2 separate regions of the Homo sapiens genome follow, and region 1 is linked to region 2. The links are contacts of gene promoters, found by promoter capture Hi-C in blood cells and fetal thymus (Javierre and others, 2016). All regions are on one chromosome and are shown on one strand. The core of a region is centred on a gene start or on the middle of the fragment in contact, and the rest is flanking DNA. Distances in the headings are between cores, read along the strand shown.

Region 1 (5,731 bases), core at 2,546-5,045, 180 kb before region 2:
TTGAGAAATCACATTTTGATTTTGATTTGCTTGCTTGACAATCTGCCTAAAGCCCAGCTGAGGCATTAAGGGTTTTTCACCTAAGGTCTTGTCATCTAAAATGGAAACTACAAATTATGTTCCTCCTTGTAGCCCATTATGGTGCATTCTGCAGAATCGGGCCATTTTTAGCTTTGAGCCCATGAAAAAGAAAAATGTTTTTAATGTTGAAATTCTGCCTGACCACGGTATCCCCTAGGATCCAGGGAATGGTAGCCAGAATTTAGATATCTAAATTACATTATAATTTTTCAATTAGAATTGTTTTGTGAACAAGAAGGTAAATGGGATGAAATTCTGAATGTACAAGCTTTTATGCTTTTGTACCAAAGTGAGCTAATTCAAAGAAGGTATAATTTGCATAGAATCATGGTTGAAAGAAATGCCTCTAAGGTGAAAGAGGTAAAGGTTTTACCCGGTTCTCAAAAATCAGAAGATGACTTACTACTTCAACAAATGAATGCACCAATCCTATCTCTCCACCTTATGGGGGGCGAGATATGGAAGCCAGAGCAATGGCCCCGCCCCCCTGCTCAGGCAGGAATGGGAGCCCCTATTACCCTGGCTGGACTGGGGAATAATAGTGACGTAAACAGGCCAGGAGTGCTCTCTCCTTCACACACCTGACAGGGCACTCAATATCGTCAGGGAGCCACTCTGGTTGAGGTAGGGCAATTCCATTAGGCAAGTACCCATTGGCAGAATCAATGCCCAGGGTCAGCCAGCGGGACCTGTGTGGGTACACGTGCCATTCTCAGTCTCTGACCTATACCATTGGAAGGATAACATGCTTACCTACTGGGGTGACCCAAGGAGGATGGAAAATGTGTTCTCCATTTACACTACTCATAATCCTAACTGGGAGAATGTGCAATATTTACAAAATGCACTACTTACCTCCAAAGAGTGGAGAATAGTTTTAGAAAAAGCTAGAGAAGAAGCTGACCAGTAACATACTGAGACTGCCAGCAATCTGGTCTGGGCAGCTACTGCTGAGGCTATAGCCTAACACAAGCAGTCTTAGCTCCTCCCAGCCTCCCATTGGCCCAAGTGTCTGGGCTTTAAGATGTTCTCAATAATATTGGTGGTGTGTTTTCCTGCTCCGTGGTCAAAAAGGGCATCTTGGAGCTCACATGCTTGTTCTGGTGGCACCTCAATGTCCAATTTTCCCAGAGCAAAGGTTACTGTGGCAATTAACTTAGTTAACACGTCCTGTCCCAACGAAGGGACTGGGCATTCTGGCATGTGCAAGATCCTGATAGGATCCAAATCATGAGAGTCAAGCTCATTGCAAGCATTAAAGAGATTGAATTTTAGCAGTCCTGAGGAAAGGGGTCTCAAAGTAGTGTAGCTTTAATAAATTTCAGGAAATGTGACAGAGGCCAAATGAAAACTCATCTGAAAGTTTTTGGAGATAATTTTTGAAGCCTCCTGGCAATGTCAACTGAGATAGATCCTGAGGCCCCTGAGAACCTCAGATTAATTAACATAACTTTTATTAGTCAAAGCACTCCTGGCATTCAGAAAAAGCTATAAAAATTAGAAAGTGTTTTTGGAATGTCTATCTCTTAACTGTATAGATTGCTTTTAAGGTGTTCAAAAACTGAGATCAAGCATTGGATCATAAAGAGCAACAGAGGATGGAAAAACAGGCATCTTTGTTGGTTGCTGCTCTGTTCACAGCACTTGAAGTAAAGAAGCCCAATGAGAAGGTAGACACCCCTGGAAACAAGAAAGGCCTCCAGAAAGGCGATCCATAGATGGGGCCCAAGCATTGTGCATATTGTAAACAAGAGGACCATTGGAAAAGGACTTCCTGAGTTTAAAAAGGCAATCCCAGGGGAAAGAAGAAAAGGCTTTACTTTTGTCAGAGGTATCCAAGAGAGTGATGGGGTCTCAGGGGGTACAATAGGTGGATGAGGCTGCATCCCCATCTCCTGCCTGGAACCCTGGGTAACTCTTTGGTGGGAAAAAGACAAGTTGATTTCTTGATTGATATTGGAGCCACGTACTCCTTCCTTGACATGGTTTGGCTCTGTGTCCCCACCTAAATCTCATCTTGTAGCTCCCATATTTCCCATGTGTTGTGGGAAGGACCTGGTGGGAAATAATTGAATCATGGGGTTTTCCCTGCACAAGCTCTCTCTCTCTTTGCCTGCTGCCATCTCTTTGCCTGCTGCCATCCATGTAAGACGTGACTTGCTCCTCTTTGCCTTCTGCCATGATTGTGAGGCTTCCCCAGCCATGTGCAATAGTAAATCCATTAAACCTCTTTCTTTTGTAAATTGCCCAGTCTTGGGTATGTCTTCATCAGCAGCATGAAAACAGACTAATACAGTCCTAAATATCAAAATAACAAAATTGTCACCCAATACTATGACTATCATGGGGTGTCTGGAACACTTATGAAAAAGTCCTTTTTACAACCTATGGACTACCAAGTGGGCACAGTCAAACTAAAGCATAGTTTCTTGTACATGCCAGAATGCCCAATCCCTTCACTGGGACAGGACTTGTTAACTAAGTTAATTGCCACAGTAACCTTTGCTTTGGGAAAATTGAGGTGCCACCAGAACAAGCTTGTGCACTCCCAAATGCCCTTTATGACCACAGAGCAGAAAAACACACCATCAATATTATGGAGAACATCTTAAAGCAGATAAGCCCAGATGCTTGGGCTGATGGGAGGCTGGGAAGGGCTAAGACTGCTTGTGTTAAGGCCATTCTTGCATTGCTATAAAGAAATACCTGAGACTAGGTATTTATAAAGAAATGAGCTTTAATGGGCTCAGTGTTCTGCAGGTTGTACAGGAAGCATAGTGCTGGCATTTGCTCAGCTTCTGGGGAGGCCTCAGGGAGCTTTTACTCATGATGGAAGGCAAAGCAGGAGCAGGCACATCATATGGCAAAAGCAGGAGCAAGAGAGAGATGGAGGAGAGAGGGTGCCACACAATTTTAAACAACCAGATCTTGTGAGAACTCACTATCATGAGGACAGCACCAAGCCATGAGAGATCCACCCCCATGATCCAAACCTTTCCCATCAGGCCCAACCTTCAACATTGGGGATTGTATCTCAACATGAGATTTGGAGGGCATGTCCAAACTATGTCATTCTCCCCTGCCCCCACAAATCTCATGTCCTTCTCATACTGTGAAATACAATAATCTCATCCCAATAGTCCTCCAAAGTCTTAACACATTCCAGCATTAATGAAACTGCCTTTGCAAAATTATAACTGAAGAAATTATGACAGTGAAAGAAATCAGACCTAACCAACCCCATATTGCTTCTAACCTTTGTCCTTGTTCATTACTGGGCATAGGCCAAACTAACTTTGGGAAGGAATTCAATTTATGGTTTGACTCTGAAACAAAATTGATAACAGACATTTTCCAAAAAGACCCCATTCTTGCCTGGGGACAAGTATGCCTTTGCAGGACTAACAAATTAGATAGAAGATTAGAAATTACATTTTAGGGGACAGGTAGCCTCTGGCTACTAGAGTCTGAACCTCCCCAAATTGCTCCTGAGGATAACATCAATGCTGTAAAACCTAAGATCAGTGCTTGAGGTATTTTGCAGCCCCTGCGCTTGATGGATCAGCTGACACCACCTAGACCAGTAATCTGGCTCAATCAGTTCTTCCATCCCATCCAGGAATAGAAAACAGCAAGAAAAACTCACTTCAACTCTCCATGATTCCATGTCCATCCTGACCAATCAGCACTTCCCACTTCTCAAGCCCCTACCCACCAAATTATCTTTAAAAACTCTGATCCCCGAATAGTCGGGGAGACTTATTTGAGTAATAATAAAACTTTAGTCTCCTGCATAGCTGGCTCTGTGTGAATTACTTTCTCCATTGCAATTCCCCTGTCTTGATAAATAAGCTGTGTCTAGGCAGCAGGCAAGGTGAACCCCTTGGGCGGTTGCACAACTCAAAAGTCCCAAGTCCCCAGTCCAAAGTCTTATCTGGAAATAAGTTCTTTCCACCTAGAAGCCTGTAAAATCAAAATGGGTTATTTACTTCCAAGATACAATGGAGATACAAGCACTGGGTAAACATTCTCATTCCAAAAGAAAGGTGCTACAGGCGCCACCCAAGTCTGAAACTCAGCAGGGCAGTCATTGAATCTTAAAACTTCAAAACAGTCTCCTTTGACTCCATGTCTCACATCCAGGGCATGCTTCTGCAGGGGATGGGCTCCCAGGGCCTTGGGCAGCTCTGACCCTGTGGCTTTGCAGGGCTCAGCTTCTGAGCCTGCTCTCACAAGCTGGCATTGAGTACCTGTAACTTTTCCTGGTGCAGAGTGCAAGCTGCTAGTGGATCTACCATTCTGGCATTTGGAGGACAGTGAACTCTTCCCACAGCTCCACTACCCAGTGCCCCATTGGAGACTCTGTGGGCGGTGCTTAAACCCTACATTTTCCCCCTGCACTGCCCTAGTGGAGGTTCTCTGTGAGGGCTCCACCCCTGCAGGAAGTGTCTGGCTGGAGACCCAGGCTTTTCCATGCATCTTCTGAAATCTAAGCGGAGGCTGTCAAGCCTTCTTCACCCTTATACTCTGTACACCTGCAGGCTTAACACCATGTTGAAACTGCCAAGGCTTATGGCTTGTGCCCTCTGGAGTGGAGGCCCAAACTGTACTTGGGCCCATTTGAGCTGGAGCTAGAGCCAGAGCAGCTGGGATGCAAGGAGCAGTGTCACAAGGCTGAGCAGGGCAGTGGCATCCCAGGCCTGACCCTTGAAACCATTCTTCCCTCCTAAGCCTTTTGGCCTGTGATGGGAGGGGCTGCCTCAGAGATCTCCGAAATGCCTTCAAGGTCTTTCCCCCATTGTCTTGGCTATCAGGACATTGTTTGCTTTTAATCAGGCTAATATCTCTAGAAAGTGGTTACACCACAGCCTTCTTGGATTCTTCCCCTGAAAAAGCTTTTTCTTTCTTTGCCAGATGGCTAGGCTGCAAATTTTCCAAACTTTATGCTCTGCTTCTTCTATAAATATAATTCCCAACTTTAAGTTATTTCTTTGTTCCTGCATCTGCGCATAGGCTGTTACAAGCAGTTAGACCACCTCTTGAACACTTTGATGCGTAAGAATTTTCTCTGTCAGATACCCTAGGTTGTCACTCTTAAGTTCAAACTTCCACAGATCCCTAGGGCATGACAGAATACAGCCAAGTTCTTTGCTAAGGCATTACAAGGATGACCTTTGCTTCAGTTACCAAAAAGTTCCTCATTTCCATTTGAGACTTTGTCAGCCTGGACTTCACTATCCATATCACTATCAGTATTTTTGTTACCACCATCTAGCCAGTCCCTAAGAATTTCCAAGATTTCTTGGAACTTTTTTCCTGTCTTCTTCTGAGACCTCCAAACCCTTCCAACCTCTGCCTGTTACCCAGCTCCAAAGCTGCTTCCACATTTTCAGATATCTATAGCAATGCCCAACTCCTCAGTACCAATTTTCTGTGTTAGACCATTGTTGTGTTGCTACAAAGAAATACTGGACACTGGGTAATTTATAAAGAAAATAGGTTTAATTGGCTCACAGTTCTGCATGCTGTACAGGAAGCATGGTGTCAGCATCCACTTGGCTTCTGGGGAGGCCTCAGGCAGCTTTAATTCATGTTTGAAGCTAAAGTGGAAGCAGGTGAGAGCAGGAGCAAGAGAGAGAGAGAGCAGGGA
Region 2 (6,440 bases), core at 2,567-5,066:
TATTCTATTATTCAAGGTTTTTGAGGCGCTCCCTAAGAAAAAGTTTTTATCGCAAATTTCACACCGTTTAAAGTGAAATCCTATGTGAAACTGAACACTTTGCAGAAATAAAATAAATACATTTCCAAATTGGTCCAAAAAGGAAAAGAAAACTTAAACTATACAAACAGAAATGGTACAATATTCATAGCTCAAGCCACCCTCAAATGTTCCAGTCTAGGCAGTCTTGGAGGCCGATTGAACAAAATGATCAGGAAAAACTAACTACCATCTTACCTCAACTCTTCCAAGGCATACAAAATATAGACTATCGTTCAATTCCTTCTCCCAGACTTGCCCTCTTGGATACAAAAACCAGATGAGGACCACCCCCACCCATGGACAAAAACACATCAAGGAAGCTCTCATACATAACACCACATATCCTACATAAGTTAGTAGCATATTAAATGAACAAACAGGCTCTGCCCAAGGAAAGAAAATATGATTTATTGTTACAAAAAAGAAACGTATTTCATTGTAATTCCTTACATACAAAATGGAGAAGAAAAAGATAAGTGCTCATATCACTGGGTATAGGAAAAGCTTTTGAAGGAAATTCAATATGAGTTCAAAGTAAACATATTTAGTTAACTTCTTTTGAAAGAGAATTTCCATTTACTAAAATCAACAGCAAACATACATAAATGCTAAATGTTCGAGGACTTATTATTAAAGAGAGGAAAAATAATTAGATGTAAGGTATTATCTCCAGCTTTTAAATCAGTATTGAGACACAAAGTCAGAGCTATAAATATCAACATAAATAAGGAGTATGAATAGTGGAAAAAATATATAATGTTTAGTGATAACATGATCAGTCTTGAAAATTCAAAGGAGTAGGCATGTGGAAGATTCAAGTGAATGGGCCTTCAGAATGAGGTATACAACAGATTATAATAGCAAAATCAAAATCTTTGCCAGATGAAAGCAATCAGTAACTAGAACACTTAATATACAATATGCCTTTTTCAATAGCATCAAAATCCAAGAATTACCTGAAAAGAAGCCTAGTAAAAATGCAGAAGGTCTTTATAGAGGCAACAATCACAGTATACTGACAGATTCAAGTAAAAGGAGTTTGAAATTAATACATGAGGCTGGGTGCGATGGCTCATGCCTGTAATCCCAGTATTTTGGGAGGCTGAGGCGGGCAGATCACCTGAGGTCAGGAGTTCCAGACACACCTGGCCAATATGTTGAAACCCCATCTCTACTAAAAATACAAAAATTAGCTGGGTATGGTGCCATGCACCTGTAATCCCAGCTACTCAGTAGGCTAAGGTAGGAGAATCACTTGAACTTGGGAGGTGGAGATTACAGTGAGCCGAGATAGTGCCACTGCACTCCAGCCTGGTAGACAGAGGGAGATGCCATCTTTCTCTCTCTCTCTCTCTCTCTCTATATATATATATATATATATACACACACTCACACACACATATTATAGAGGAGCATAGCATATTCATTGATGAGAAAGAGAACACTGTAAAAATGTCAAATGTGCTTCAATTATGTACAATTATGTACAAATTATGTCTTACCTGTGGCTGCCAACGTGACAATCAAATTTGGGCTGCTGTTCTCTGCTTCACAAATCAACCCTGGAAAATTATAGAAGGGAAAAAGAAGGAGAAAGACACAATATCAGCAACAAAGTCTAAGCAACAAAATAGAGAAAGCCCTGGGTGATGCTGAAGATGGTTGAACTGGTAATTGTGTTTGACACTTGCAGTCTCGGTTGGAGGGGGGGTGGCAGCAGGGATACTGGGGAGGTCTGTACCCTGCCTAGACTGCAGTTGACAAAATGGTTACAATGAAAGTTTTCAAATTTCCACTTCACATCATTACACAGTCTGAGGCAGCTCCTCAAAACATGATGCTAGTAGCCCTAGGGCAACAGCAGGACACCAGTTAAACAGGGCTGGTTAAGACAGTATGGATCAAGAGTTCCACTAATAACAACCAGACACCAACATAGTGGGTGAGAAATTGTGTTTCAAAAAAAATTATTTCAACAGAACGTAAAGAATGGAAAAGAAGTAGAATAGGATATAAGAGTGAATCATGCATACTACTGGTAGGTATTCTTTCCTAGAAATAAATACATATATATATACAGCTACCTACATATATCCTTGGAAGATACGAAAAGTGTATTTCTTTTTCATTTTTTAAATTTTTTGAGACAGAGTGTCACTCTGTCGCGAGGCCCACGCTAGAGTTCAATGGCACGATCTCGCCTCACTGCAAACTCCGCCTCCAGGTGCAAGCGATTCTCACGCCTCAGCCTCCTGAGCACTACCACACCCAGCTAATTTTTGTATTTTGTGTAGAGACGGGGTTTCACCATGTTGGCCAGGCTGGTCTTGAACCCCTGACCTCAAGTGATCTGCCCGCCTCGGCCTCTCAAACTGTTGGGATTACAGGCGTGAACCACCGTGCCTGGGAGTAAAACATATTACTTTGAGGACAAAAGGTTTGCCAAGTGTAGCTCTGGCTGGAGAGAAGCCCCCGTGGGAAGGTGTGCGTCTTCTCCCAGAGGTCACTACAATCGCGGGAGCTGCCACTCTGCAGGGAGCACCTGGCCTGGGACCTGCAGCCATTCTCTGCAATGGGTGCAGCTGGGCAAATGCTCAGAGATGGCAGAAACAGCATCTCCCGCCCATGACTTCAACAAAGTGCCAGGAGCCGGGAGGAGGACCTTCCTGAGTGGGGACAGAGGGTCCACTCTCCCGACGTAGATGGGCCACAGAATGCAGCTCAGCCCCTCCTGTCAGCCCTGGAAGACCCTGGCAATGTTACCACGACCACACCCCCCCTCCCATTGCCACCTCATGGGACTGGGGGCCAGAGACTTGGTGGGAGAGAAGCAGACACAATCGGCAGAGAATATGGGTGTCCAGATTCTGCCAGGCATGAAAGTCAGGACCCTGAGGGGTGACCGAGGGTCCCCCAACCCCACGCCCAACCCCACTACCACCAACACGACGACTTAAGCCCCGGGGCACCACTGGCATCCCTCCCCCTACCACCCCCAATCCCTCCCTTTACGCCACCCATCCAAACATCTTCACGCTCACCCCCAGCCCAAGCCAGGCAGAATCCGGTTCCACCCCTGCTCTCAACCCAGGGAAGCCCAGGTGCCCAGATGTGACGCCACTGACTTGAGCATTAGTGGTTAGAGAGAAGCGAGGTTTTCGGTCTGAGGGGCGGCTTGAGATCGGTGGAGGGAAGCGGGCCCAGGCTCTGTAAGGAGGCAAGGTGACATGCTGAGGGAGGACTGAGGACCCACTTACCCCAGATAGAGGACCCCAAATAATCCCTTCATGCCAGTCCTGGACCATCTGGTGGTGGACTTCTCAGGCTGGGCCACCCCCAGCCCCCTTGCTGCTTAAACCACTGGGGACTCTGAAGTCAGAGCTCGTGTGATCAGGGAAGGGCTGCTTAGGAGAGGGCAGCGTCCAGGCTCTGCCAGACATCATGCTCAGGATTCTCAAGGAGGGCTGAGGGTCCCTAAGACCCCACTCCCGTGACCCAACCCCCACTCCAATGCTCACTCCCGTGACCCAACCCCCTCTTCATTGTCATTCCAACCCCCACCCCACATCCCCCACCCCATCCCTCAACCCTGATGCCCATCCGCCCAGCCATTCCACCCTCACCCCCACCCCCACCCCCACGCCCACTCCCACCCCCACCCAGGCAGGATCCGGTTCCCGCCAGGAAACATCCGGGTGCCCGGATGTGACGCCACTGACTTGCGCATTGTGGGGCAGAGAGAAGCGAGGTTTCCATTCTGAGGGACGGCGTAGAGTTCGGCCGAAGGAACCTGACCCAGGCTCTGTGAGGAGGCAAGGTGAGAGGCTGAGGGAGGACTGAGGACCCCGCCACTCCAAATAGAGAGCCCCAAATATTCCAGCGCCGCCCTTGCTGCCAGCCCTGGCCCACCCGCGGGAAGACGTCTCAGCCTGGGCTGCCCCCAGACCCCTGCTCCAAAAGCCTTGAGAGACACCAGGTTCTTCTCCCCAAGCTCTGGAATCAGAGGTTGCTGTGACCAGGGCAGGACTGGTTAGGAGAGGGCAGGGCACAGGCTCTGCCAGGCATCAAGATCAGCACCCAAGAGGGAGGGCTGTGGGCCCCCAAGACTGCACTCCAATCCCCACTCCCACCCCATTCGCATTCCCATTCCCCACCCAACCCCCATCTCCTCAGCTACACCTCCACCCCCATCCCTACTCCTACTCCGTCACCTGACCACCACCCTCCAGCCCCAGCACCAGCCCCAACCCTTCTGCCACCTCACCCTCACTGCCCCCAACCCCACCCTCATCTCTCTCATGTGCCCCACTCCCATCGCCTCCCCCATTCTGGCAGAATCCGGTTTGCCCCTGCTCTCAACCCAGGGAAGCCCTGGATGGCCCGATGTGAAACCACTGACTTGAACCTCACAGATCTGAGAGAAGCCAGGTTCATTTAATGGTTCTGAGGGGCGGCTTGAGATCCACTGAGGGGAGTGGTTTTAGGCTCTGTGAGGAGGCAAGGTGAGATGCTGAGGGAGGACTGAGGAGGCACACACCCCAGGTAGATGGCCCCAAAATGATCCAGTACCACCCCTGCTGCCAGCCCTGGACCACCCGGCCAGGACAGATGTCTCAGCTGGACCACCCCCCGTCCCGTCCCACTGCCACTTAACCCACAGGGCAATCTGTAGTCATAGCTTATGTGACCGGGGCAGGGTTGGTCAGGAGAGGGCAGGGCCCAGGCATCAAGGTCCAGGCATCCGCCCGGCATTAGGGTCAGGACCCTGGGAGGGAACTGAGGGTTCCCCACCCACACCTGTCTCCTCATCTCCACCGCCACCCCACTCACATTCCCATACCTACCCCCTACCCCCAACCTCATCTTGTCAGAATCCCTGCTGTCAACCCACGGAAGCCACGGGAATGGCGGCCAGGCACTCGGATCTTGACGTCCCCATCCAGGGCTGATGGAGGGAAGGGGCTTGAACAGGGCCTCAGGGGAGCAGAGGGAGGGCCCTACTGCGAGATGAGGGAGGCCTCAGAGGACCCAGCACCCTAGGACACCGCACCCCTGTCTGAGACTGAGGCTGCCACTTCTGGCCTCAAGAATCAGAATGATGGGGACTCAGATTAGCATGGGGGTGGGACCCAGGCCTGCAAGGCTTACGCGGAGGAAGAGGAGGGAGGACTCAGGGGACCTTGGAATCCAGATCAGTGTGGACCTCGGCCCTGAGAGGTCCAGGGCACGGTGGCCACATATGGCCCATATTTCCTGCATCTTTGAGGTGACAGGACAGAGCTGTGGTCTGAGAAGTGGGGCCTCAGGTCAACAGAGGGAGGAGTTCCAGGATCCATATGGCCCAAGATGTGCCCCCTTCATGAGGACTGGGGATATCCCCGGCTCAGAAAGAAGGGACTCCACACAGTCTGGCTGTCCCCTTTTAGTAGCTCTAGGGGGACCAGATCAGGGATGGCGGTATGTTCCATTCTCACTTGTACCACAGGCAGGAAGTTGGGGGGCCCTCAGGGAGATGGGGTCTTGGGGTAAAGGGGGGATGTCTACTCATGTCAGGGAATTGGGGGTTGAGGAAGCACAGGCGCTGGCAGGAATAAAGATGAGTGAGACAGACAAGGCTATTGGAATCCTCACCCCAGAACCAAAGGGGTCAGCCCTGGACACCTCACCCAGGATGTGGCTTCTTTTCACTCCTGTTTCCAGATCTGGGGCAGGTGAGGACCTCATTCTCAGAGGGTGACTCAGGTCAACGTAGGGACCCCCATCTGGTCTAAAGACAGAGCGGTCCCAGGATCTGCCATGCGTTCGGGTGAGGAACATGAGGGAGGACTGAGGGTACCCCAGGACCAGAACACTGAGGGAGACTGCACAGAAATCAGCCCTGCCCCTGCTGTCACCCCAGAGAGCATGGGCTGGGCCGTCTGCCGAGGTCCTTCCGTTATCCTGGGATCATTGATGTCAGGGACGGGGAGGCCTTGGTCTGAGAAGGCTGCGCTCAGGTCAGTAGAGGGAGCGTCCCAGGCCCTGCCAGGAGTCAAGGTGAGGACCAAGCGGGCACCTCACCCAGGACACATTAATTCCAATGAATTTTGATATCTCTTGCTGCCCTTCCCCAAGGACCTAGGCACGTGTGGCCAGATGTTTGTCCCCTCCTGTCCTTCCATTCCTTATCATGGATGTGAACTCTTGATTTGGATTTCTCAGACCAGCAAAAGGGCAGGATCCAGGCCCTGCCAGGAAAAATATAAGGGCCCTGCGTGAGAACAGAGGGGGTCATCCACTGCATGAGAGTGGGGATGTCACAGAGTCCAGCCCACCCTCCTGGTAGCACTGAGAAGCCAGGGCTGTGCTTGCGGTCTGCA

What was found. Contacts are between HindIII fragments. The CHiCAGO score rates a contact against its expected background, and 5 or more counts as called.
Region 1: a contact is called between a fragment that was not itself captured here and the fragment with the promoter of MAGEA1 in region 2, in 1 of 17 cell types (activated CD4 T cells). The highest score is 5.9, in activated CD4 T cells.

What each region holds. Positions count from the first base shown.
Region 1 is chrX:153,000,176-153,005,906 of GRCh38, forward strand. No RefSeq gene overlaps it. Among named protein-coding and RNA genes, the nearest start is that of PNMA5, 8.9 kb to the left of the region's middle. The HindIII fragment of the contact is 2,358 bases long and covers 2,617-4,974 here.
Region 2 is chrX:153,175,468-153,181,907 of GRCh38, forward strand. It overlaps MAGEA1 (MAGE family member A1), which reads left to right and starts at 3,817. Exons shown (of 3, transcript NM_004988.5): 1 at 3,817-3,898. The HindIII fragment of the contact is 9,739 bases long and covers 588-6,440 here.